Linked DNA regions of Homo sapiens: regions 1, 3 and 4 are each linked to region 2. The links are contacts of gene promoters, found by promoter capture Hi-C in blood cells and fetal thymus (Javierre and others, 2016). All regions are on one chromosome and are shown on one strand. The core of a region is centred on a gene start or on the middle of the fragment in contact, and the rest is flanking DNA. Distances in the headings are between cores, read along the strand shown. Region 1 overlaps ST6GAL1 (ST6 beta-galactoside alpha-2,6-sialyltransferase 1). Region 2 holds the start of ADIPOQ (adiponectin, C1Q and collagen domain containing). Region 3 has its middle 45 kb from the start of RPL39L. Region 4 overlaps ST6GAL1 (ST6 beta-galactoside alpha-2,6-sialyltransferase 1).

Region 1 (5,844 bases), core at 2,490-4,989, 210 kb after region 2:
CACAGAAGGACTTTGATCCTGAGATGTAATCAAAATTGCATGTTAGACTTCGAATGTTCTGCTGTTATGGGGTATATATCCTCTTGGCATTTTGTCTAACAAATATTTTAAGACATTCATATATTCTTTTATTTATTCATGGATTCATCAACAATACAAAGGGGAAAGGGAAGGGAAAGGCCCTTTGTTGAAGCCCGAGTTGCAGGCAGCGTGCCAGGCCCATACACTTCCTCCTGCATCTGGAATTTGTTGAGTCTCTTCCCAACTACTGGATGGATCAGATTATTTCAAATGGTTTTCTTTTACAAATAACATTGCTGACAAGGTTTTTGTGCAGATAACTTAGGTAACCACTATTGACATTCAACAGGGAAATATCCTCAGAAGTGAGGCTAGAAGACACGAGTAAGAGACATTTTATGACTTTTTTTTTTTTGTCCATAGCAAGATTTTCTATCAGAGAGAGTGTAATAACATACTCTGCCTCCAGCAGTCTCACAAACCAGCCAATGGTGGGCTCAGTCATTTTCAATTATTTTTGATAGTTTACTCATACATGTTAAGTATCCTAGATTTGCTGGAATTTTCATGTCAAACAGTAGCATAATTTTAAAACACTATCATCAATACAAGTGATGCTTATTATGCATCTGCTGAGTTCCTAACATGCCTTGCTCTTTTCATCCTCCCAGAAGTCCTGTGAGGTTGATAAGATTATTGGTCTCATTTTGCTGGAGAGCTAAATGCGGAGGCTCAAGTGGTCACACAACTGGCTAATAGCAGACTGAGGTTTGAAAGCAGAGTGCTTGCTTCAAAGACCCCACTCTTGGCACCTCTGCTGTTGTGCCTCATAATAATTGTAGCTTCATAATAAAATTCGGTGTGATTATTCTTTTATTATGTTAAAAATTTTCTTCTATTCTTGTCTATTAGCTGTCCTAGAGAGAAAGAGAAGGGTATTCTGAGTTAAGGCAAAGGCAAGAAGCAAAGGCTGCACGGGGAAAAGTGTGTTTGGGCATCACAAATAATCCTGTTTGGACGGCATGTGGGTCCTTGTGGGTGAAGATGGGTGAGGAACGAGGCCAGAAAGGTAGCTAGGCATTAGCTCTTAGAGAACGTTGATAGTCACAATAAGGACTTTAGGTTTCATTCTTTAAGCCATGGAGAGCCCTAGGAGGTTTTTGAACAAGGGAGACTTCTCACTTCTCTATGAGTCCCTGTTTTGTACTCTATAATGTCTCCATTATTAGGGACTATTGCCACAACCAGGTCAGAAGTGCCAGGCCTGCCCAGGCTGTGGTAGCAGTGATGAAGAGAAAGGACCTTACCTGAGAGGGCTCATGAAGTAAGAGGCAGAACTTACTATCTAGCTGGAAATGATCTTGAGTGAGAGGCAGGAGCCAGGATGTCTAGCCTGGGAGCAGGCTGTATCTTACCAAGGGGAGCATGCTTCCAGAGGAACGCAGATTCCACTTTGGATGTTCTGAGACTGAAGTGTGTGTGGATTTCCCTGGGTAGATATCTATGCTGTTGAGTACTTAATTCTAGAGAAGGATCAGATATCGAGATAGATTTACAAGTCATTTGTATCAAGGTGAGATAATGGTTATAATCCAGGGAAGAAGACCAATTAGAAAATCTAGAAAAAGATTTACATTTAAAGGACAAAGAAAAGAACAGGGAAAAGTCAGAAGGGTCAGAGACCGGCTAGAGGAGAACTAGGTGTGCACCATACAATGGAAGGCAAAGGGGGATGGAGTTTGAGGGATGTTGGCTGTTGGTATCAAAGTCTGCAGAGGTGGGACATATTCTTGGGCAGAATAAGGACTGAGAAGACACCTGTGAACTGAGTAGCTTGGAGAACATGATCAGTTATATCAGGGGTCAGCAAGCTTTTCTTAAAAGGCCGGATAGTAAATAGTTTTGGCTTTGAGGGCCATGATGTCTGTCACAACTACTCAACTCTGCTGTTGTACTGCAGAAGTAACAATAGATAGTAGTAAATGAACAGGCCTGGCTATGTTCCAACAAAACTTTATTTACAAAATGAGGGATGCACCAGATTTGTCCTTCAAGTCATAGTGTTTTGTTTTGTTTTTGACGGAGTCTTGCTCTGTTGCCCAGGCTGGAGTGCAGTGGCATGATCTCGGCTCACTGCAAGCTCCGCCTCCCAGGTTCATGCCATTCTCCTGCCTCAGCCTCCCGAGTAGCTGGGACTACAGGTGCCTGCCACCACGCCTGGCTAATTTTTTGTATTTTTAGTAGAGACAGGGTTTCACCGTGTTAGCCAGGATGGTCTCGATCTCCTGATCTCATGATCCGCCCACCTCGGCCTCCCAAAGTGCTGGGATTACAGGTGTGAGCCACCGCGCCCGGCCAAGTCATAGTTTTTTTTTTTTTTAACTCTGATCTATAGTATGTCTGTTTTCTTCAACCGGACTCAGAATGTAATTTTCCATAAATGGTTGTAGGATGTATTAGGCTAACTTGAAAATATAAAAGCGTTTGGTGATAAATTGTGATAAAATTTCTTTCATAATAATTTCTAGCTATTTAGAGTTAACTACACCTAGAGGCAGTGGATTTTGATGTATTTATGAATTTACTAACTTGAGCTGATTCTGTTGAATTTTCTAAGCGTGTGATTGTATAATCTGAATACAGTGATGCATTTATTTTTTCTTCTCCTAATTTGCCTCTTTTTCTGAGCTCTAATTCTAAGTTACAGAGAGGTGGTAGTTTCTTTTTTCTGCAGCCTTTCCCCCTCGCTAGGCTTGTTTGCTGGGATCTCAGTAGTTGTGGATTTCTCTTGGTGATTTCTTAGAGGCCTATTTGAGTTTGAAAGTTCAACTTTCAATTAGCAGGGAGGTTTGACAAACAGGATTTTTTTCTCTTTAAGTACCCAAGTCAGTTTAAAGTTTTCTTTTTAAAAATTTGATATATAATAATTGTACATATTTATGGGGTACATGTGATATTTTGGTACATGCATACAATGCGCAATGATCAGATTGGGTAATTAGAATATCCATCTCCTCAAAAAAGTTTTCTCCTTTGATTGGCTTTTTTCTTTTCCTTTCTTTTTTTTTTTTTTGAGACAGAGTCTTGCTCTGTTGCCCAGGCTGGAGTGCAGTGGCGTGATCTTGGCTCACTGCAAGCTCCACCTCCTGGGTTCACACCATTCTCCTACCTCAGCCTCCCGAGTAGCTGGGATTACAGGCGCCTGCCACCATACTCGGCTAATTTTTTTGTATTTTTAGTAGAGACGAGGTTTCACTGTGTTAGCCAGGATGGTCTCGATCTCCTGACCTCGTGATCTGCCCACCTTGGCCTCCCAAAGTGCTGGGATTACAGGTGTGAGCCACCGTGCCCAGCCTGATTGGCTTTTTTCTTAGAATCACGTCCAAACTTCATACCTGGGCCCCCATGTCCGTGTATGATCTGGTTCCTGCCAACCTCTGTAACTGTATCTTTGATTTTTCTTCCCCTCACTCCTTGTCTACAGTCAAGTCCCTGCCCTCATTGTGGTCCTGACACTTGCTGCATCCTCTGACTGGTGGACTTCTCTGAACCCTTCCCAAGGCTGGCCATCCTTTGGGTCTCAGCTCCAAGGCATTCCCTGAATCATCACTCTATGAAGGAAATTCCCTCAGTGTCTCTGGCACACAGCTCAGCTTGTTAGTGTCACAGTGTTTGTCACAATCCGAAATTATCTTATATGTAGGTTGTTGTCCGTCTTTACTGTCTATGTCCGTGCAGTAGAATGTAATATCTCTGAGGGCATGGACCTTGTCTTTGTTGCTCACAGGCGTCGTCTCCCGTGTCTAAAACTGTGCCTGGCATAGAGTAGGTGCTCAATCAGTATTTGTTGACTGAACAAAACAATTCTCCTTTCTTATGGTCAACATCAAGCATCTGTTCTAACCTAAGCCTTCTGTGCTGGATGTTCTCCAGTGGCACCTCCAAATCCCACTCTCACCCTTTTCCATCTGGCTCTGTCCCTGAGAAATTGAATTTTTTTTTTTTTTTTTTTTTTTTTTTTGAGAATGAGTCTTGTTCTGTTGCCCAGGCTGGAGTGCAGTGGCACAATCTCGGCTCACGCTAACCCCCGCCTCCTGGGTTCAAGCGATTCTCCTGCCTCAGCCTCCAGAGTAGCTAGGATTACAGGTGCGTGCCACCACGCCCAGCTAATTTTTGTATATTTAGTAGAGATGGGGTTTCACCATGTTGGTCAGGCTGATGTCGAACTCCTGACTTCAGGTGATCCACCCGCCTCGGCCTCCCAAAGTACTGGGATTACAGGCGTGAGCTACTGCGCCCAGCTGAGAAATTAAAATTTTGAACTGCGTTAATTGGCATTTCTCACTCTCTGGATTTTCTCTGGGACTGGCCAGGAGAAGCAGTGGCATTAAAGCTGAGAAGAAGACTAAGGTCAGGGCACCTATTCCGCCATGTTTCGCCTTGCAGAGTAAACTCAAGCTGTATCTTTCTCTTGACTGAAGGTCTCAGATCCTGCCAGGAGGCCGTCCCAGTCTTGGTCCTGCTCTGTCCCTTTTCCCTTCAGTTCTATGAGATCCAAGGGAAGGGGCAGAACCAGGTTGGGATATTGACTCCCTCAGGCTCCTTCTTGCCCGGAGGTTGGCAATAGCTGTGTTCCTCTCCTAAAGGCAACAGCTCCCGACAGGTGTCCCTCCTCAGCTCAGGGTCTCCGCTCATCAGGCCACAGTAGACCTGGGGTGGTAATGACACCCTGCAGTCATCAACCCTGGGGCTTTAGCCTATTCCGTGTTGATTTCTTTAAACTCTACCCCAACTTGGTAAGTAGTCCTTTTATGAATCTCTCAATTACTCCATTGGAGCTTCTCATCTCTTTTCTACTGGGATTCTCACCAATAATTTATTCATCTGTGAAATGGAAAAGTTGACTAACTGAAGTTTCTGATGGATCTGTGTTTCTCATGCAATTACTACTAATCCCTTTCGAACCAGTGACTGATTCTGACAAAATGTGTTGTAATTCTGAGTTGTGTAAAGATATACCTCCTGCCCTATGTGCACTTCAGTGTACCTGCCCTGTAAGATGATAACAGTTTGGACTGTGCCCTTCTCAGATAATTTTCAAACCATTTTGATGAAATTTTGCCCTAGGATTGAGGATAGGGTTGTGTTGTTTTCATGAATGATGTTTCTGTGTTCCTGAGGTTTAGTACATACATTGGAACTGAAATAAAGAGAGAGGCTTTCATCCTTAATTCTGTGGATATCCTCTTTCTAAATCATCTTGTGTTCAGTCAAATGCCCTCACTTCCCCAAATCCTGTGTGGATAAAGAATGATCCAAAACAAACCTGAATAGGACAATAGAGGATTCAGCTGACCCCCAGATCCCGTGTAGATTTCAGTGGTGAGCCCCAAACTTGCTTGACCGAGTAAGATTGAAAGAAGTTCTCATAGGATCACAGGATTTGGATGGCTCCTTAAAGTCTTCAGTTCCCTCCTTCATCAGATAGGTCAACGTGGGGTAGAGAAACTTTTCCAAGTCTTCCAAACACTGCTTAAACAGTTGCAAAGACAAGGAGCTAGCCCAGGAAGCTTTTAGGTTTTTCAAGATGGCCTGTTTGATTTTGACTGGATTTAGTACATTGTTTCTGACAATGGCTTACAAAGAAAGAGAGAGAGAGAGAGAGAGAGAGAGGGAGGGAGGGAAGGAAGGAGGGAGGGAAGGAAGGAAGGAAAAGAAGGAAGGAAGGAAGGAAAAGAGAGAGAGGAAGGAAGTTAGTTTAGCTCTCTGACCTCCTCTTCCATTTCTGCCACACCAGTTCTGTGACTCTTCCCTGGGCCTCAG
Region 2 (6,672 bases), core at 671-3,170:
ATTGCCTACTTTGTGCCAGGTTCTATTCTAGGAACTAAGGGATACAACTTTGAATAGGCAAAATCTCTGCTCTCCTGAAGTTTACTTTTTTTTTTTTTTTTGAGACAGAGTTTCACTCTTGTCACCCAGGCTAGAGCGCAATGGTGCTCTTGGCTCACTGCAACCTCCACCTCCTGGGTTCAAGTGATTCTCTTGTCTCAGCCTCCCAAGTAGCTGGGACTACAGGTATGTGCCACCACGCCCGGCTATTTCTGCATTTTTAGTAGAGATGGGGTTTCACCATGTTGGCCAGACTGGTCTCAAACTCCTGATCTCAGGTGATATGCCTGTCTTGGCCTTCCAAAGTACTGGGATTACAGGCCTGAGCCACTGCACCTGACCTGAAGTTTATGTTCTATTAAATAGCAACAGACAGTAACATAAACCAAAAATAAATAGGAAAACACCATAACAAAAATCAAACAGTGATATAATTGAGAGTTGCTTCTATTTCTTTTTGTTGTCTTCTTGGTTCAATCAGCCTGCTAAACTATATGGAACCTCATTTTCATGGGCCACTTATTTAAGCCGGGGGACCTTGGAAAGTCTCTCATGTCTCTCATCTCAACGGCCTAATGTGACTTCTCTTGAAATATTTGGACATTAGCAGGAAGCTGAGGCTTTACATCAGATCTTTACTTTAATGGTGGACTTGACTTTACTGGTAGATTTTTAGGCTCTGTGTGGACTGTGGAGATGATATCTGGGGGGCAGGCAGACACTTGCCCTGCCTCTGTCTGAGAAAATTCTGTTTTGGATGTCTTGTTGAAGTTGGTGCTGGCATCCTAAGCCCTTGCTGGGGTCGTAATTTAATTCATCAGAATGTGTGGCTTGCAAGAACCGGCTCAGATCCTGCCCTTCAAAAACAAAACATGAGCGTGCCAAGAAAGTCCAAGGTGTTGAATGTTGCCACTTCAAGCCTAAACTTTCTAGGAACACCTAAGTGGGTGGCAGCTTCCAGTTCTCCAGGCTGCTTCTAGGCCAGAGCTGGGTTCCACAAGAGACAGAATAGGCATATATATGCTTAAGGAACTGGAAAAACAGGCTCTCTCTCTCTCACAAACACACACACACACATACCAAGGTAGCTGTCAAAATGTTATCCGAAATTTTGGAACCAAAAAATCTTGAAAGATGGTATTCCAATATCACATTTTATGTAAGTTTTCTATTATATTAGATTCAAATTACGATTCGAGGCCACAAGCTTTAAGAATTCAGGGCCTTTTTAACTTGCCAAGCCCCACACCACTCCAGGAACTTCCCCACACCCCAGTTCTCAGAATTCATGTGCAAGGTCTTTCCTAAATCCAGGGTCCAGGTCAGAGAGTGGAGGATGTGCTCTATTTCTTACCTGATTGCAGACCCCTCTGACAGTGCTCCCTTCTGAAGCACTCACTGTCTGAACGTACACAGTCTCAGACTTAATCATGCACAGTGAGCAAGACTGTGGTGTGATAATTGGCGTCCCTGACTTATTAGGGCAAATCTATGGGAGGGGGAGACCTCCTGGACCACTGAGCAATTAATTCATTTACATTAGGAAGTTTCTCCGTCAGATGCAGGAAAAAAATCTTGTTTTCCTGCTGTGGTTTTGACTTTTGCCCCATCTTCTGTTGCTGTTGTAGGAGGCAAAATAAGGGTCAAGGCCTGGAAACACAAGTGCTTTGACTGAAGCTCCACTTGGCTTCCGAAGCCCAAGCTGGGTTGTACCAGGTTCCCTAGGGTGCAGGCTGTGGGCAACTGCCAGGGACATGTGCCTGCCCACCGGCCTCTGGCCCTCACTGAGTTGGCCAATGGGAAATGACAATTGTGAGGTGGGGACTGCCTGCCCCCGTGAGTACCAGGCTGTTGAGGCTGGGCCATCTCCTCCTCACTTCCATTCTGACTGCAGTCTGTGGTTCTGATTCCATACCAGAGGGTAAGAGCAATTCTGTGAAGTTCCAGGCTGGGTGGGGGATGCATGCATAGCCTCTGGCTGGGATCACCCAGGCTCTCCCGTCCGTAGTAGTGTGGGAGTGGATACAGGTGGATACTCTGGTCAGAGCAGCACTGGTGGAGGCAGATATGCACTGGGCTTCTTCCTCCGTTCTCCCACAGCCCCAAGAGAGAAAGGGTTATTTCAGACATTCCTTCTAAGATGCATGGAACCATTCTGAATTTTGCCCAGTTCGCTCTGTAGCAGGATACCTATTGAGAAAAAGTTAGGGTCAGTAAGGTGGAAGGGTCTGTCCACAGATGAAGTCCAATTCGATTAAGGGGGATAAGGGAATACATTGCCTCTTAGCTTGACCAGGTAGGGCAAAGGAAGAAGCATATATGAAGGCAGCTTCAGAAAAGTCAAGCTGAGCACTGACTTCAGACTGGAATTAGGAATCCAGCTCTGCCACTTTATTCTACTCAGCAAATATTTACTGAGCAAATTCTATGGGCTAGACAGTGGATTGGGTTCACAAGATACAATGAGTGTGACATGGTTGTTGTCTATGGATTTGGGGATATATGTAGGTATAGGGATATCTTACAAGGTAATCAAGAGGTTCTAATGAGGCCAGCCATGGTGGCTCACACCTGTAATCCCAGCAATTTGGGAGACCGAGGCGGGTGGATCACCTGAGGTCAGGAGTTCCAGACTAGCCTGACCAACATGGTGAAACCCCGCCTCTACCAAAAATACAAAAATTAGTTGGGCGTGATGGCAGGTGCCTGTAATCCCAGCTTCTCGGGAGGCTGAGGCAGGAGAATTGTCTGAACCTGGGAGGCAGAGGTTGCAGTGAGCCGAGATTGTTGCCACTGCATTCCAGCCTGGGTGACAGAGCGAGACTTTGTGTCAAAAAAAAAAAAAAAAGAAAGAAAAGAAAAAGAGGCTCTAATGAGATAAAATGAGAAAAGCCTGGCATATAGTGGCAACTTATGAAAAATTGTAATTAAAAAAAAACATTTTCTGACAGAAGAAACTGGATCTACCTGGTTTTTCTGAAGCCTAATCCTGCTCGCCCCAGTGAGTGCTGTTTCTGAGGCATCCTGGTTGTTTTGAGCTGTGGATGCTGAAGGTTAGAGTGGGAGGGATTTTAGAGGTTAGGTCTGCCCCTCTTGTGTTAGAGGACATGGATCCCTGGTCTGGAGAGGTTCTGGTTTTTGGATCAAGCCTCACAAGGGGTGGCACCAACTCACTCCTAGGAACTCCGCTAGAAGGAAGGCCAGCTCTGCCTAATTCGGTTGGGGAGATGGGGGTCCCTTTATGCTAGCAGAATATGTCCGAAGGAGCATGATGGTGTCAGCTTTGTTCATGAAGGCCAGTGGTACACAGGGAGCCCGGCAGCTTCCTCAGCAGTCCCTGCTGCCACTCTTCCTTAAGTCTTGAGGAGTCTTTTTTTGGCACAATCTCAGCTCACTGCAACCTCCGCCTCCCAGGTTCAAGCGATTCTCCTGCCTCAGTCTCCCAAGTAGCTGAGACTACAGGCATGCGCCACCACGCCCAGCTAATTTTTATATTTTTAGTAGAGATGGGGTTCACCATATTGGCCAGGATGGTCTCGATCTCTTGACCTCATATTCCACCTGCCTCGGCCTCCCAAAGTGCTGGTATTACAGGTGTGAGCCACTGCGCCTGGCCGAGGAGTCTTAAGCTGAGATCACAGCATTGCACTCCAGCCTGGGCAAAAAAAGCAAAACTCCATCTCAAAAAAAAAAAAAAAAAAATAGACACAAGACTGGCTCCTTGTCTTTTTTGGGGACAGGGTCTCACTCTATCACCCAGGCTGGAGTGCAGTGGTGCAATCACAGCTCACTGCAGCCTCGATTTCCCAGGCTCAAGTGACCCTCCCATCTTAGCCTCCTGAGTAGCTGGGACTACAGGTGTGTGCAACCATGCCTGGCTAATTTTTAAAAATTTTTTGTAGAGATGAGGTCTCACTATATTGGCTGGGGGGCCTCAAACTCCTGGGCTCAGCAGTCCTCCCACCTCAGCCTCCCAAAAGGCTGGGATTATATGCTTGCTCTTTTTAAGGTGGCTGTAGGGACAAACTTTCCACCTACTCCTTGTCAAGCCAGTGGACCGGTGGTCCCAGACATACGGCTAAAGTCAAGAGGTGATGTCTTTTGGAGAGATACTTTCAATCAGGAATTTCAATCAGAAATTCAATCATGTGGAGAGAGACTTATCCTAAAAATGTGGTGGTGCGTGGGATGCTCTGTTTTATTAGTTCCTTGACAGTATGTATGTGTGTGAGTGTGTGTGTGCGCGCGCGCACACTCATTTGGATGGGTGTGTATGTGTGGGGGGGGGTGGTGCGTACGTATGTGGATGTGTGGATGTGGTGTGTGGGTGTGCGCGTGCATAGGTGGAGGTGTGTGTATGGGTGCGGGTATGTGTGTGTGTTGGGCATGGAGATATTGACAGCTCTCCCAGGGCTGAGTGAAGGCTTTCGGGCAAAGCTCCTGGGAGCTAGGCAAAGCTGAGTTGATTCCTGGTTATGCCATTTATTATTGGGTTGCACCGTGTGAAACTGCCAATATTCTACACTTTGACTTTTATTTATTTTTATTTTTATTTTTTTTGAGACAGAGTTTCACACTTGTCACCTAGGCTGGAGTGCAGTGGCGCGATCTCAGCTCACTGCAACCTCTGCCTCATGGATTCAAGTGATTCTCCTGCCTCAGCCTCCCAAGTAGCTGGAATTACAGGTGCCCGCTACCACGCCTGACTAATTTTTGTATTTTTGGTAGAGACGGGATTTCACCATGTTGTCCAGGCTGGTCTGAAACTCCTGACATCAGGTAATCCACCCACCTCAGCCTCCCAAAGTGCTGGGATTACAGGCATGAGCCACTGCGCCCGGCCCATTTTGACTTTTAAAAATGGGAGTTTGATATAATTCAATCCAGTGGTTGAATTAGCTAGCATCGTTCCCTCTCCAAGTCTCAGGTTCTCCTACACGTTAGAGTCAAAAGCAGGGCTATGGGAAGATTAAGTAAAATAAATTTTGAAAATGCCTTATGAAAATTACACTCCAAAGAACTCGCGCCAGTGTCAGTGTTCTCATGTTCCTCATCTCACATGATCACATTTCGCGGATTAGGAAGCTGAGTCTGAGAAGCTCCGTGTAGTGCTTTTTCGGAGGCACCGTGATGTGATGGAAGGCTCACTCGTTAGGAAGTCAGAACAGAGTCTCTGAGGGATCATCTCCTTAATCTGTCAGTTTCCTCATCTCTGAAGTTGGGCTCATTTCCTTCCTTCATGGAGTTATTGTAAAGATGAAGATAAATAACGTGTAAAATCTAGCATGGGAACTGGCTTCTATAAGGTTCTAATAAGTGCATTCCTACTCCTTCCCCTCAGCCTTCCCATTTGTAAAAGCAAGGCAGGGGTGAGGTGATTTCTGGGGCTCCTTTTGGCTCTGACATTTGAGGATTTTGTATACTTTTTTTTTTTTGAGACAGAGTCTTGCTCTGTCACCCAGGTTGGAGTGCAGCTCAATGCAAATTCCGCCTCCCAGGCTCAAGCAATTCTTATGTCTCAGCCTCCTGAGTACCTGGGATTACAGGCAGGCACCACCACCCCCAGCTAATTTTTTTGTATTTTCAGTAGAGACGGGGTTTTGCCATATTGGCCAGGCTGGTCTTGAACTCCTGACTTCATGTGACCCACCCATCTCAGCCTCCCAAAGTGCTGAGATGACAGGTGTGAGCTACCGTGCCTGGCCAATTTTGTGTGCTTTAATGCCCTTTTCTGCTGGAAGAGTTGGCACCAGGTTTGGTGATCTCTTTCCCCCACACGGCTCTGCCTCCTGCCAGTCCCAGAGGGGACCCTGTCCTTGCATTTCACAGGATTCTGCTGTTGCAACTGAAATTCCAGTAGGTCAAAGTGAAATTTCTCATACACTTTAACATGAAGATAAATGATCACAGTATGGCCCTTTAGGATCCTGAGAACATCACGGTCATCCCCTGGTATAATTTTAAAAGCAGATGAATCCATGCCTGTGCGAGGTTTGCCAGGAAAGCCAGTGCTGGGATTACAGTGGAAGTCTTTTTATGCTACTTTTTTCTTGTATCCCTCACCCCATGGGGTGGCATATTGAAAGGCAGGATGTGTGACCACGATACTTTTCTCCTCCTGGACTATGTCTAAGAGTCTGTTATTGGGTTCTGAAGATCAGAGTTTAATTTCCGACTCCTCTCTGTGTAGCTCTGGGATCTTGGAAAGCCACTTAACCTTTCTGAAGTCCCCTTTCCTCATCTCTAAAATGCATACACTCATCACTAACATTTACTGAGCACTGACATGTGCCAGACACCATTCTAAGCATTTTACACAGACTACACCATTTGATCTTCCAACAAACAGAACACTGAAACGCATTACAGGTCAGAACAAATGATTTGTGCCTAAGCACCAAGACCGTAGAGCCCGTGCTCCCTATTCTACCCTATCCTGTCTCTCAAAATGATTGTGAGAATCGAATGAGACACTAGGTGAGAAAAGGGTTTTATAAATAGCATTTTAAAAATTTTTTAAAGTCCACAAAATTTTTAATTTTAATACAGATAAAATAGATCCCTTTGTTTTATAAAAAGTAACAAAATTTGTTATACAACAACTATGTTATTTATTAATTTTGCCTTTTTGTA
Region 3 (6,604 bases), core at 2,286-4,785, 250 kb after region 2:
TTATCTGTTTATCTAGATTGTCCAATTTTTTTGGCATATAATTATTCCAAGTAATTTGTCGCGATCTTTTGTATTTCTGTGTTATCAATTGCCTCCACTTTCATTTCTAATTTTATTTGAGTCACTCTATTTTTTCACTTAATCTAAGTAAGGGTTTATCATTTTTATCTATCTTTTCAAAAAACAAATACTTAGTTTTATCTATTTTTTCTATTACTTTGCTAGTCTCTATTTCATTTATTTTTTTCTCTTTCTGCTCTTGTTATTTCTCTCTTTCTGCTAACGTTGTTCTTTTTCTAGTTCCTTGAGGTGTAATATTAGGTTGTTTATTTGAGATCTTTCTTTTTCTGATATAAGTATTTATTGCTATAAAATTTCATCTTAGGACTGCTTCTGCTGCATGCTGTAAGTTTTGATATGATATATTTTCATTTTTGTCTCAAGGTACATTTTTCGTTCCTTTTTTATTTCTTTTGTGACTCTGGTCTTGTAATCAGGCAAGGGAGAGAAATAAAAGGCATCGAATAGGTAAGGAAGAAGTGAAATTTTCTCTCTTCACTGATGACATAATCTTATAAACACATAAAAATCATAAAAATTCCACAAAATTTCCACATACTAATTTCCACATTTGTGAATTTTCCAATATTTCCCGAGATTTCTCTTGTTATTGATTTCCAGTTTCATGGCATTGTGATTGGAAAAGATACTTGCTATGATTTGAATCGCCTTAAATTTGATAAGATTTGTTTTGTGGCCTAACGTGGTCCTGGAGAATGTTCCATTGAGAAGAAAGTGTATTCTGTTTCTGTTGGATGCAATGTTCTGCATATGTCTGTTAGGTACATTTGTTCTAAAGTGTAATTCAAGTCCAGTGTTTCCTCGTTGATTTTCTAACTAGATGGTCTGTTATAAAAAATGAATACCCGTACTATTATTGCATTGCAGTCTACCTCCTCTTTGAAATCACTTAATAATTGCTTTATGTATTTAGGTGCTTTGATGTTGGATGAATATATTTACAATTGTTATGTCCTCTTGATGAATTGACTCCTTTATCATTATATAATGGCCTTTTTGATCTCTTTTGATAGGTTTTGAATTACAGTCTATTTTTCCTTATATAAGTATAGCTAACCCTGCTCTCTTTTGGTTTCCATATGCATGGAATATCTTTTTCAGTCCCTTCATGTACAGTCTATGTGTGTCCTAGTGAGGTGAGTCTCCTGTAGACAGCATATGATTGAATATTGGTATTTTGTTTGTTTGTTTGATTTGAGACAGAGTTTTGCTCTGTTGCCCAGGCTGGAGTAAAGTAGTGCAATCTCAGCTCACTGCAGCCTTGACCTCCTGGGCTCAAGCAATCCTCCCACCTCAGCCTTCCAAGTAGCTGGGACTACAGGCATTCACCACCATGTCTAGCTAATTTTGTTTATTTTTTGTAGAAATGAGATCTCACCATGTTGCCCAGGCTGGTCTTGAACCCTTGGGCTCAAGTGATCCTCCTGCCTTGGCCTCCCAAAGTGTTGAGATTATAGACATGAGCCACCATGCCTGGCCTGAATATTGTTTTTATGCATTCAGCCACTCAATGTCTTTTGATTGGAAAATTAAATTTATTTACATTCAAAGTAATTAGTGACAGGTAAAGGACTTGCTACTGCCATTTTGTAATTTGTTTTCTGGTTGTTTTATAGATTCTCTGTTTCTTTCTTCCTCTCTTGCTGTCTCCTTTTGTGGTTTAAAGGTTTTCAGTGGTGGTCTGTTTTTAATTCTTTATTTTTATATTTTATGCATCTATTATAGTTTTTTGCTTTATGGTTACCATAAAACTTATATAAAACATCTTAAACTTAAAACAGGCTATTTTAAACTGATAACAATTATAATTGCAAGCAAAAGCTCTACACTTTACTCCTTCTCCCTACCTTTTGTGCTTTTGATGTCAAAATTTTCCTTTTCTTATAATTTGTATCCCTTAACAATCTATTGTAGCTACAATTTTTAGTAGTTTTATTTTAGCCCTCATAGTAGAGATAAAATTGCTTTACACATAACCTTTATTTACATTTTTGGTGTATTCTGAATATGACTACGTATTTCTTCTACCATTAAGTTTTTTATTTTATATGTTGTGTATTATTAGTTAGTAGTCTTTTGTTTCCACTTAAAGAACTCCCTTTAGAGGCAGAGGTTGCAGTCAGCTGAGATTGTGCCACTGCACTCCAGCCCGGGTGATGGAGCAAGACTCTGTCTCAGAAAAAAAAAAAAAAAAAAAAAAAAAAAGAACTCCCTTTAGCAATCCCTGTAGAGTGGGCCTAGTGGTGATGGTAAACTCCCTTAGCTTTCATTTGGAAAATTTTATTTCTCCCTTATTCTGAAGGACAGCTTTGCTGGGTAAAGTATTCTTGATTGGCAGTTGTCTATTATCCTTCAGCACTTTGAATGTATCATCCCACTGTCTCCTAGACTACAAGGTTTCTACTTAGAAATTCACTGATAGCTATATTGAGACTCTGTTCAGTATGATATGCCTCTTATTTCTTGCTGCTTTCAGTATTCTTTCTTTGTCTTTAATTTTTGATAATTTGAATGTGATGTGTCTTGGTGAACTTGTCTTTGAGTTAAATTTGAAAAGTGATCTCTAAGCTTCCTGTACCTGGATATTGTCATCTTTTCCTAGATTTGGGAAATTTTCAGCCATTATTATCTTAAATAAATTTTCTGGTTCTTTTTCTTTTTCTTTTCCCTAGGGAACTCCTATTATGCGTAGATCTGTTTTCTTGATAATGTCCCATAATTACCATAGGCCTTTTCCATTGTTTTTCTTTCTTTTTTTTCTTTTCATTCCTCTGACTAATTTAAATGTCCTGTATTCAGGTTCACTGATTCTTCTTCTGCTGGTCAAGACCTGCTATTGACACTTTCTATTAATTTCAGAAATTTAGTTATTGTATTCTTTAGCTTTATAATTTCTATTTGGGTTTTTTATTGTTTATATTTTTGTCAAACTTCACATTTAGTACATGAATTGTTTCCCAGAATTTCATTCAATTTTTCATCTGTATTTTCTTGTGGTTCTCTGAACTTCTGAATTCTTTATCAGTCATGTCATAAATCTCCACTTCTTCAGAGTCCACTATTAGAACTTTATTAGTTGCATTTCCCTCATTTTTTTTTTTTTTTTTTTTTTTTTAGATGGAGTCTCACTCTGTCGCCCAGGCTGGAGTGCGGTGGCATGATCTCAGCTCACTGCTACCTCTGCCTCCCAGGTTCAAGCAATTCTCCTGCCTCAGCCTCCCAAGTAGCTGGGATTACAGGCACGCACCACCATGCCCGGCTAATTTTTGTATTTTTAGTAGAGATGGAGTTTCACCATGTTGGCCAGGCTGGTCTTGAACTCCTGACCTCAGGTAATCCACCTGCCTTGGCCTCCCAAAGTGCTGGGATTACAGGCATGAGCCACTGCGCCCAGACTTCCCTCATTTTTGTAATCCTTGTGTCTTTGCATTGGTACCTACACATTTGAAGAAACACTTTCCAGTCTTTGCTGGTATTCTTTGGCTGTGCAGATCTTCACTATTTAGTATAGCCTAGGATTCTAGTTGGGCCAGTAGGTGGTGACAGGTAGACCTTGCATGTTCTCTAGTTGGGCTGGGCTGTTAACTGTGTTCTGGCGTCAAGCAAAACTTCTGGCTGTAATAGCAATCACTATAGTCTGACTCTCAGGAGGTCTTCCTCTTAGGAAAAGGGGGAGAGTACCACATCACGGGAACACCGTGTGGGACAAAATAATCTGGGTGACAGGCCTTGAGTCCCAGATCATTCCTGTGGGAAAGTTTCTTTCAGCAGAGACACAATTGCAGTACTGGACTCAGCAGGGGACATCTGTGTCTCTATCCAACAGTCAGACAGGCTTGGTGCTCATGAAAGGTCTTAGAGAAAGGGTCCTCTTTCCCCACTTGTCCACCACTGCAGACACAGCTGGGGCTTCTCTCACGGGAACTCTGTGTGGATTCACCTACAGACAGCCTTCCTGGAACACTTCAGGGCAACTGCATCCCCACAGAAGGAGCATTCCCCAGGTTTGGGCTTGCACAAGAAGCAGACTCACAATTTCTCTCTACTTGAAACACCAATATTCCTACAGACAAAAAGAAGTGCCTGTATAATCTGAATAGCTGGAACACTGGGACAGGTGTGAGGCTGGGAGGTGGATAGCTTTTCTGCTGGCCTGGCAGGGGAGCTGAGATAGCTCCCAACCTTCACTCTGATAAGACCTCAGTGCATCTATTTGGGAGCTCCCCAAGCAACCTTAATCAAGGCTGGGATCTCTGCCCACCATTGGGTATTGCATTTACCCACTTGCTTTAGCTACAACCGGTTCCTACCCAGGGATACAATTCCACCCCTACTGTCCTGAAGCTTGAGCCATTAACTCAGTAAATAAAATAATGGAGAAAAAATAAATAAATATGAGTGCACAACACAGGGAAATGAGATAAGCTTCAAAAGACCCCTACCATTCCAATCCCACAGGAGACAATGAACTTGCCTATACCAAGTACATACATACTACAAGTAGCATCTGAGACAGCCATCACACAAAGACTCTCTATAAGCAAGGAATTCTTACAGAATCTTCACTCATAAAAGCACCAAGAACCAAATTCAGCTGTAATAAACTATAAATATTGAAGTCACATCCTTAAGAGAAAAAAAAAGAAATTAAAAAAAATGAAACCAAAAATAAATTCAAGAACAATTACAAGAAATAGTCTACCCAAATGAGAAGGAACCAGAAAAGAGATTCTGGTAATATGACAAAATGGGGTTCTATAATGCCCTGAAAAGATCATACTAGCTCCCCATCTCTGGATCCAAAGCAAGATGAAATCTTTGAAATACCAGATAAGGAATTCAGAAGGTTTATTATTAAGCTGCTCAAGGAGATACTGGAGAAAGGTGAAAACCAACATAAAGAAATTTAAAAATCAATACAGGATGTGGATGAGAAATTTTCCAGAGAGATAGATATAAGGAAAAACTAATCAGAATATCTGGAAATGAAAGACACACTTAGGGAAATAAAAATACAGTGGAAAGTTTCAACAATGAACTAGAACAATAGAAGAAAGAATTTCAGAGCTTGAAGACAAGGCTTTTGAATTAGCCCAATCAGATAAAGATAAAGAATCAAAAGAACAAAGTCTCCAAGAAATATGGGACTACGTAAAATGGCCAAACCTAAGAAGAGTTGTTGTTCCTGAGGGAACAGAGAAGGATAAAAGTTTGGAAAACGTATTTGAAGTAATAATTGAGAAAAAGTTTCCTGGCCTCGCTAGAGATTTAGATATCCAAGTACAGGAAGCTCCTAGAACATCTGAGAAATTAATTGCAAAAAGATCATCACCAAGGCAAAAAGTGATCAGGCTATCTAAAGTTAATATGAAGGAAAGAATTCTAAGAGCTGTGAGACAAAAGCATCAGGTAACCTATAAAGGAAAACATATCAGGCTAATAACAGACTTCTCAGCAGAAACCTTACAAGCTAGAAGAGATTGGGTGTCCTATCTTTAGACCCCTTAAACACAATAATTGTCAGTCAAGAGTTTCGTATCCAGCAAAACTAAGCTTCATAAATTAGAGCAAAATAAAGTCTTTTTCAGACAAACAAATGCTGGGGTTATTTGCCACTACCAAACCAGCACTACAAGAAATGCTAAAAGGTGTTTTAAATTGTGAAAGAAAAGCTTGATATGCACCAAAATAGAACTTCCTGAAAGCATAAAACTATAAGGCCTATAAAATGTAATGAATGTATGAATGTAAATGGCCTAAATGCTCCACTTAAAAGGTACAGAATGGCAGAATGGATTAAAAAAAAACATAAACTAGATATCTTCTGTCTTCAAGAGACTCACCTAACACATAAAAATTCATGTAAACTCAGGGTAAAGGAGTGGAAAAAGATATTCCACACAAATGGAAACCAAAAGTAAGCCAGAGTAGCTATTGTTATATCAGACAAAACAGATTTTAAAGCAACAACAGCCAAACACAAGCAAACAAAATACAAAGAATAACATTATATAATGATAAAAGGATCAGTCCAACAAGAAGATATTACAACCATAAATTTATATGCACCTAACACCAGAGTTCCAAGATTTATGAAACAATCACTACTAAATCAAAGAAATGAGATAGACAGCAACACAGTAATAGTGGGAAATTTCCATACTCCACTGACAGCACTAGAAAGATCACTGAGACAGAAAGTTAACAAAGAAGCAGTGGACTTCAACTATATGCTAGAACAAATGGACTTAACAGATATTTACAGAACATTCTACTCAACTACTGGAGAATATACATTCTTCTTATCAGAACATGGAACATTCTCCAAGATAGACTGTATCATAAGCCACAAAACAAGTCTCAATAAATATAAGAAAATCGAAATCATGTCAAGTATCTTCTCAGACCACAGTAGAATAAAACTGGAAATCAACTCCAAAAGGAACCTTCAAAACTATAAAATACATGGAAATTAAATCATCTGCTCTTGAATGATTTTGGTGTTAATAATGAAATCAAGATG
Region 4 (6,471 bases), core at 3,684-6,183, 140 kb after region 2:
AGTGCTCGGGGGCATCCTTCTGGCTGTAGCATCTGCGTAATAGCTGCTCCTAAGAATGCAACGTGAGCTGAATTCAAACATGAATTTGGAGCCAGTACCTGAATATGTGGGTTGTTCTATGCCACCGGGCCCCCTGCCTGTTTAATTTCTCCTTCCCCTGCTGCCAAGGCTTCCGAGAAGTTGCTGTGTAGGTGCTTAATGCTTCGGAGATGGTCAGGTATGAGTTTAAATCCTGGTCTCGGGCACTTTAATTGCTAATTGTGTAGCACTGAGCAAAAATAATAGGGATGCAGCTTTTATAGCACCAATCAGGTCAGTGATGTTGGTGATACTGTTGAGAGCTTACTATGTGCCAGGCATTATGCTAAGTGGTTGATGACCATTATCTCATTTATTCCTCCGTATACCCTACAGGCAGATGCTGTCATCATTCTGAAATTCCAGATACGTAACTGAGGTTCAGAGAGGTTAAGTAAGTTGCCTGAAGCCATAAAACAAACGATGATGGAATCAGATCATGGATCCTGATATGTCACACCTTAACCATTGTGCCATTGGTCTACAATTTGCCTGATCCTAAGAATCACCTGAGACTCTTGTTAAAAGAGCAATTCCCAGGCCCTGTCTCAGATTCAGATTCAGCCCAGCTGGGGTGGAGCCTGGGGAGCAGTGGATGCAGCGGGCACCCTGGATGATACTAGGATCTGGCAAGTTTAAGAAACGCTATATTGTGCCTTCCTGCCTGTAAGTTGTGGCTCATGGTTGGCCCTCAAGAAATGTTAGCTGTTAGTATTATAATATAAATGAATTGAAAGGACAGCTTATTGTGAAAGAATATACGTCTTTAAAAAGCTTATTAGTCCTGACACTAGATTTTAAAGATAGAGGTCGGATGGGCGCGGTGGCTCACGCCTGTAATCCCAGGACTTTTGGAAGCCAAGGCAGGTGGATCACGAGATCAAGAGATCGAGACCATCCTGGCCAACATGGTGAAACCCATTCTCTACTAAAATTACAAAAAAAAAAAAAAAAAAAAAATTAGCCAGGCAAGGTGGCAAGTGCCTGTAGTCCCAGCTATTAGGGAGGCTGAGGCAGGAAAATCACTTGAACCTGGGAGGTGGAGGTTGCAGTGAGGATCACCCCACTGCACACCAGCCTGGGTGACAGAGACTCCATCTCAAAAAAAAAAAAAAAAAGATAGAAGTCAAGGGGAAATAGATTCTGGATCAATGAATCTATACTCTAATACTCTAAACTCAAAACTATCTGCAAGTGGGATGTGTGCCTTTATAGGTCCCTGTCACTAGTGGTCAAGCAATCAGTGCCATCACGTGTTGGGTGTGATGGCTGAGCTGTTCTTCAGGGACCCATTCCTCAGTCAGTGTCTGCTGTATACATGCAGCTGCAGAGGACATTTGTGCACTGAGGAGGGCTTTGGGTGTGTTAATATTCTAGAAGAGGTGGAGTAGAGCAGCTATGCAAAGCAAGGAAGAAGGCAGGAGGTGTTAAAAGAAAAACTTTAGAGAAAATAAATGTAGCAAAGTTCATCTGAGCAAAGAACCATGTGTGAATTGGACAGCACTCAGAACCAGAAGAGGTTCAGAGAGCTCTGCTGCCGCAGTGAGGACAGTGAGCTTTTGTAGGCTGAACGTGGAAAGAAGGCTAAGAAAATATATTTTATTAGAGTGGGAAGACCCTAGTTAGAGGTTAGTTGGTGGTTTCTGATTGGTGAAGCCTCTAGTTACATTTTACTGTTTACATTGATTTGGATTTTGGTTTGCTTATGTAGAAGCTCTGGTTATGGAGACAACCTCAGGCTAACGGCCTCCTTCTTATTTGCTTTAACAGAGGGATGGCAGAGGTAGAAGACAGCAGATATTTGAGGGCCATCACTACTGCCTTGTACCGTGGGTAACCTGCATGAAGTCTTCTCTGTAGCTTCAGAGCATCTAGATCCGCTGTCATGCCACCAATACACTAAGGCACTTCATTTTCCTCAGGGAGACTGATGATGTCTTGTTATCTCTTATTAGCATTCCAAGTCTTATCTTATTTTTGAATTCTCAAGGTCCATTTTTGGGCATATAAATTACTGAAGGCAGTCAGGAAATATTGTTCCATCAGAGCTGGGAGAAAGACTCAACCCTTATCCTGGTCCATTGACCTATTTCCAACCTCAGCTTTGATGACAAAACTCAGCAGAAGCTTTCTTACAGACTAAGAGCACTTTATAAAACACTGCTTAAAGCTGAAGGAAACCCTCTGAATGACCACCCTTGAATACCTCCTTTACTAAGACCCATGATTATCTGGGAGTTAGAATCCATAATAATAGCTGCCACTGTGCACAGTGATTGTGTGCTGGGTGCTTTACATCTATTTTCTCATTTAATTCTCCTAACAACTCTATGATAGCAGTCACGCTATGATACAGGTCACACTGGTATTGTTTCACAAATGAATAAACGGGCCTAGAAAATTCAACTAGATTTCCCTAGGTTAGCAGTGGAGTTGGACTTCAAACCTAGGTCTGTGTAGCTCACAAATGAACACTTATTATGCTTATACCATTTTGCCTCATTAGAATAATAGGAAGTCCTTCCTTTTTTGGTGAGGAAGAAATTTAGAGATTGGTTACCCTGACTGGTGATACAGAGCAAAGCTATGTACAAATTGCATCAAAGGGTGGCAGATCCCTACATTCCCATCTAACATCACATCATTCCTAACCTTTTTCCATGTGGATAAGCATGACCTTAGTCAAGTCATTTCTTAGTAAGATAGATTGTTGGTTGCTCGTGACTCTCAGTGAAGACCCAGTAATGCCAAGAATCATGGCAGACAGTTAGGGGGAATATGTATCTTCAACTATGGGGCAGTATGGCAAAGATATTGAGGGCCAGGAATTTGACTACTTTTGAGGAGCGATGACAACTGAGTACAGGAAGTGAGAGGAAGGGAGCATGTACCGTGTATCATTTAATCAACCTTGAGCTTGAGACCAAAGGGAACATACCCTAAGTTTAACTAGGATGGGTTTATCCAGATATAATGGCATCACATCGTAAATTGAAAAGTGTCTGTGTGTAATTCTCTCTGTCTTATTTCTTCGAGAAGGAGTTTCGCTCTTGTTGCCCAGGCTGCAGTGCAATGGTGTGATCTCGGCTCACTGCAATCTCCGCTACCCGGGTTCAAGTGTTTCTCCTGCTTCAGCCTCCCAAGTAGCTGGGATTACAGTCGCCCGCCACCATGCCCAGCTAATTTTTTTATTTTTAGTAGAGACGGGGTTTCACCATTTTGGCCAGGCTGGTCTTGAACTCCTGACCTCAGGTGATCCAGCCACCTCGTCCTCCCGAAGTGCTGGGATTACAGGCATGAGCCACCGCGCCCAGCCCCAATTCTCTCTTTTTAATAGTAATCTAATTACATTTATTTGGCTGCTTTGTTTTCTGTCTCAGGTACGCTAAGTTTGTCTCTCAAAACTCTTTGTGGGCAGGAATTGTAGTTTATATGGTAGTGATGGTTGTATTTTAATTTCACAGAGTGTCTAGCAGGTAATAATTAGCCAATAAAATGTTTCCATTCATTCACCAAATATTTACTGGATAGTTACCACGGTTTGGGCACTGGACATAAAGGTGCTAGGGATACAGTGATAATTATTACTTGGCAGTTGAAATGCTTACGGTTTTAAGGGAAGACAGACATGTAGGCACATTAAAATGACATTTTAATTTGATTAGAATATAATTGAGATTTAAGTAAAACTTATTGGGAACTCAGATGGGAAATAATGAGAAAACAAAGAGAGGGAGGCAGATTTAAGAAATATTCTGAGAGTAGAAAATAGAAGCTTGCGACCTATTCAGTTGGAATCAACACTGTTTATAGGATTGCTCTAGGGGCAGTGAGGCACTGGCGTGGACAGTGATCCAGGGGCACTCAGGGTGAGGGATGAGTTGAATATGAGGTGAGAAAAAAGGGAAGTTGAAGATACCAAGCTTAGCAAGGTAGTAAGAGGTGGAGAGAGGAAGGGAGGGGATTATAATGGTTATTATATAGGGAGTGCTTATTACTATGTGCAAGGTAATTAACACGAATTGCCTCATTTTTTCCTCATAATAAAAGAAGTAGGCACTTTTGGGGATACAGACACTGAGAGCAGTTGAGTAGCCTGTCCAAGATCAGACCTTTGAGGAGTGGAGGAGTTAGGTTTACGCCCAGGAATCCTTGCTCCAGAGTAAACAGTCATGCAGCTGGGTGGAGAAAAATTCCACTAGCTGATCAAGAACATCCGAAAAGCTCTCATGCTGATAACTCCCAAATATGGATCTCCAGCTCACACCTTCTCCCTGACCTCTAGACTTTCCTATCAGGCTTCCTACTTTACGCTCTGTTTGACAGTCTCATCTCAAACTCAGAATATCCAAAGCTGAACTCCAGATTTCCTCTGCCCCCAGGTCTGCTCTTCCTTTGTCTCCTCTTTTTCCATTAAAGTAGCACCATCCGTCTAGTTGCTTGGGCTCCAACCCTTGGAATCATCCTTGACTCTTCTCTCTCTCACACTCACATCTAAAATATCGGGCATGATTTTCAAAGCACGTCTAAAATATACCCACTTCTCTGCCTCCACTGCAACCAGCTGGTCTAAGCCATGAGCATCGCTCACTGGGACTGCTGCTGTCTCCTTACTACTATCCCTGCCCCCTATTCCTGTTCCCACATGGCAGCCTGAGCAATTCTGGCATATTAAGTCAGATCTGGTTGTTCCTCTGCTCAGCCTCCTGCAGCAGCTCCTATTTTATTTGCTAAAAGCCAGAGTTCTTGCCAAGACCTCAAAGGCCCTGCCCAGACTCCTCCACCTCCCCGACATCGTTGTTTGTTCCTCCCGGACCCCGTCTCCATGTACCCTCTTCCTTGATCCTTTCCTTCCAACCAGTGCACACCAGTGCACTCCTGCCTTGAGCCTTGCCGCAAACACGCTTCCCCAGATATTGTGGGACTCATTCCTCCACTATCTGCAACTCTTTGTTCAAATGTCCCCTTCTCAGTGAGTTCTCCTCTGACTGCCCTTTGGAAAATGGAAACCTACCTCAACCCAGTACTTCCGATCTCCCCTTTCTTTCCTTCCCTTCCTCCCTTCCTTCCTTCCTTCCCTCCCTCCCTCCCTCCCTCCCTCCTTCCTTCCTTCCCTTCCTCCCTTCCTTCCTTCCTTCCATCCTTCCTTCCTTCCTTCCTTCCCTCCCTCCCTCCCTCCCTCCTTCCTTCCTTCCTTCCTTCCGTCCTTCCTTCCGTCCTTTCTTTCTCTCTTTCTCTGTCTCTCTCTTTTCTTTCTTTCTGAGATAGGGTCTCGCTCTGTCACCCAGGCTGAAGTGCAGTGGCACGTTCTCGGCTCACTGCAACCTCCACCTCCTGGATTCAAGTGATTCTCCTGCCTCAGCCTCCTGAGCAGCTGGGATTACAGGTGCCCACCATGACACATGGCTAATTTTTGTATTTTTAGTAGAGATAGGGTTTCACCTTGTTGGTCAGGCTGGTCTCGAACTCCTGACCTCAAGTGATCCGCCCACCTCAGCCTCCCAAAGTGTTGGGATTGCAGACGTGAGCCACTGAGCCTGGCCCTATCCCCCCTTTCTTGTACTCTACTTTGTTCTCTAAGCACTTAGCATCTTTTAAGATACCAAATAATTTTTTTAATTTGTTATATTTACGGCTCTTAGTGTCTCCCTCTGCTAGTATGTAAAACTCTAAGGGTGTTGATCTTCATCTGGGTTATTCACTGTAGTATCCTATGCACTAAGAATTATACTTAGCACTTAGCAAATGTTTAATACATTTTTTTTTAAAGTGAGTAAGCGTAGAATATAAAGCTTTTGTGCAGGTCTCTAAAAGTTTTTGAAAGGATATGATCTGAGGCTAGGCACTCCCAGCACTTTGGGAAGTCAAGGTGGGTGCATCTTGAGCTCAGAAGTTCGAGATTAGCCTGGGAAACATGGCGAAACCCCGTCTCTTCAAAAAGTAAAAAAAAAAAAAAAAAATTAGCTGGTCCTGGTGGAGCATGCCTATAGTCCCAGCTACTCAGGAAGCTGAGGAGGGACGATTGCTTGAGCCTCAGAGGTGGACGTTGCAGTGAGCCGAGATTGCGCCACTGCGCTCCAGCCTGGGTGGCAGAGTGAGACCCTGTCTCAAAAAAAAAAAAAGAAAAAAGAAAAAGAAAAAAAGACGAGGTCTGGAGTCTGAGGGAGATGTCACTGGGGGCTGGTCATGTGGAAGCAGGAATCTTCCCCGTGTATGTGGGCATTTCAGGACTGGCAGGAAGCTGGTCCCAGGGGAGGCTAAGCTGGGGAGGATGCCTGAAAGGCATTAGTGGGAGGGAGTTTGAAAAAGACCCAGAGACGCCTGTTTGAAATAAGTATTGGAAAGGACTCTTTAGATTTTGCAATTAGAAAGGCAGTTTCAGTGGAATGATGT

What was found. The method cuts DNA at HindIII sites, captures the fragments that hold promoters and counts their contacts. A CHiCAGO score of 5 or more calls a contact.
Region 1: a contact is called between a fragment that was not itself captured here and the fragment with the promoter of ADIPOQ in region 2, in 10 of 17 cell types (non-activated CD4 T cells, total CD8 T cells, naive CD8 T cells and 7 more). The highest score is 17.4, in non-activated CD4 T cells.
Region 3: a contact is called between a fragment that was not itself captured here and the fragment with the promoter of ADIPOQ in region 2, in 14 of 17 cell types (non-activated CD4 T cells, total CD8 T cells, activated CD4 T cells and 11 more). The highest score is 18.7, in non-activated CD4 T cells.
Region 4: a contact is called between a fragment that was not itself captured here and the fragment with the promoter of ADIPOQ in region 2, in 8 of 17 cell types (non-activated CD4 T cells, total CD8 T cells, activated CD4 T cells and 5 more). The highest score is 12.8, in non-activated CD4 T cells.

The regions. Positions count from the first base shown.
Region 1 is chr3:187,044,867-187,050,710 of GRCh38, forward strand. The region is part of intron 4 of ST6GAL1 (ST6 beta-galactoside alpha-2,6-sialyltransferase 1); the gene reads left to right. Among named protein-coding and RNA genes, the nearest start is that of RPL39L, 92 kb to the right of the region's middle. The HindIII fragment of the contact is 3,699 bases long and covers 1,891-5,589 here.
Region 2 is chr3:186,840,790-186,847,461 of GRCh38, forward strand. It overlaps ADIPOQ (adiponectin, C1Q and collagen domain containing), which reads left to right and starts at 1,921. Exons shown (of 3, transcript NM_004797.4): 1 at 1,921-1,960. RefSeq lists a promoter at 1,245-1,943, a cis regulatory region at 1,345-1,372, enhancers at 1,961-6,672, 5,004-5,051 and a silencer at 5,117-6,672. The HindIII fragment of the contact is 5,592 bases long and covers 1,245-6,672 here.
Region 3 is chr3:187,091,184-187,097,787 of GRCh38, forward strand. No RefSeq gene overlaps it. Among named protein-coding and RNA genes, the nearest start is that of RPL39L, 45 kb to the right of the region's middle. The HindIII fragment of the contact is 1,776 bases long and covers 2,648-4,423 here.
Region 4 is chr3:186,979,588-186,986,058 of GRCh38, forward strand. All of the region lies in intron 2 of ST6GAL1 (ST6 beta-galactoside alpha-2,6-sialyltransferase 1), which reads left to right. LOC124906314 (a long non-coding RNA gene) reads right to left here. Exons shown (of 3, transcript XR_007096208.1): 3 at 3,710-6,471. Among named protein-coding and RNA genes, the nearest start is that of ST6GAL1, 52 kb to the left of the region's middle. The HindIII fragment of the contact is 1,869 bases long and covers 4,000-5,868 here.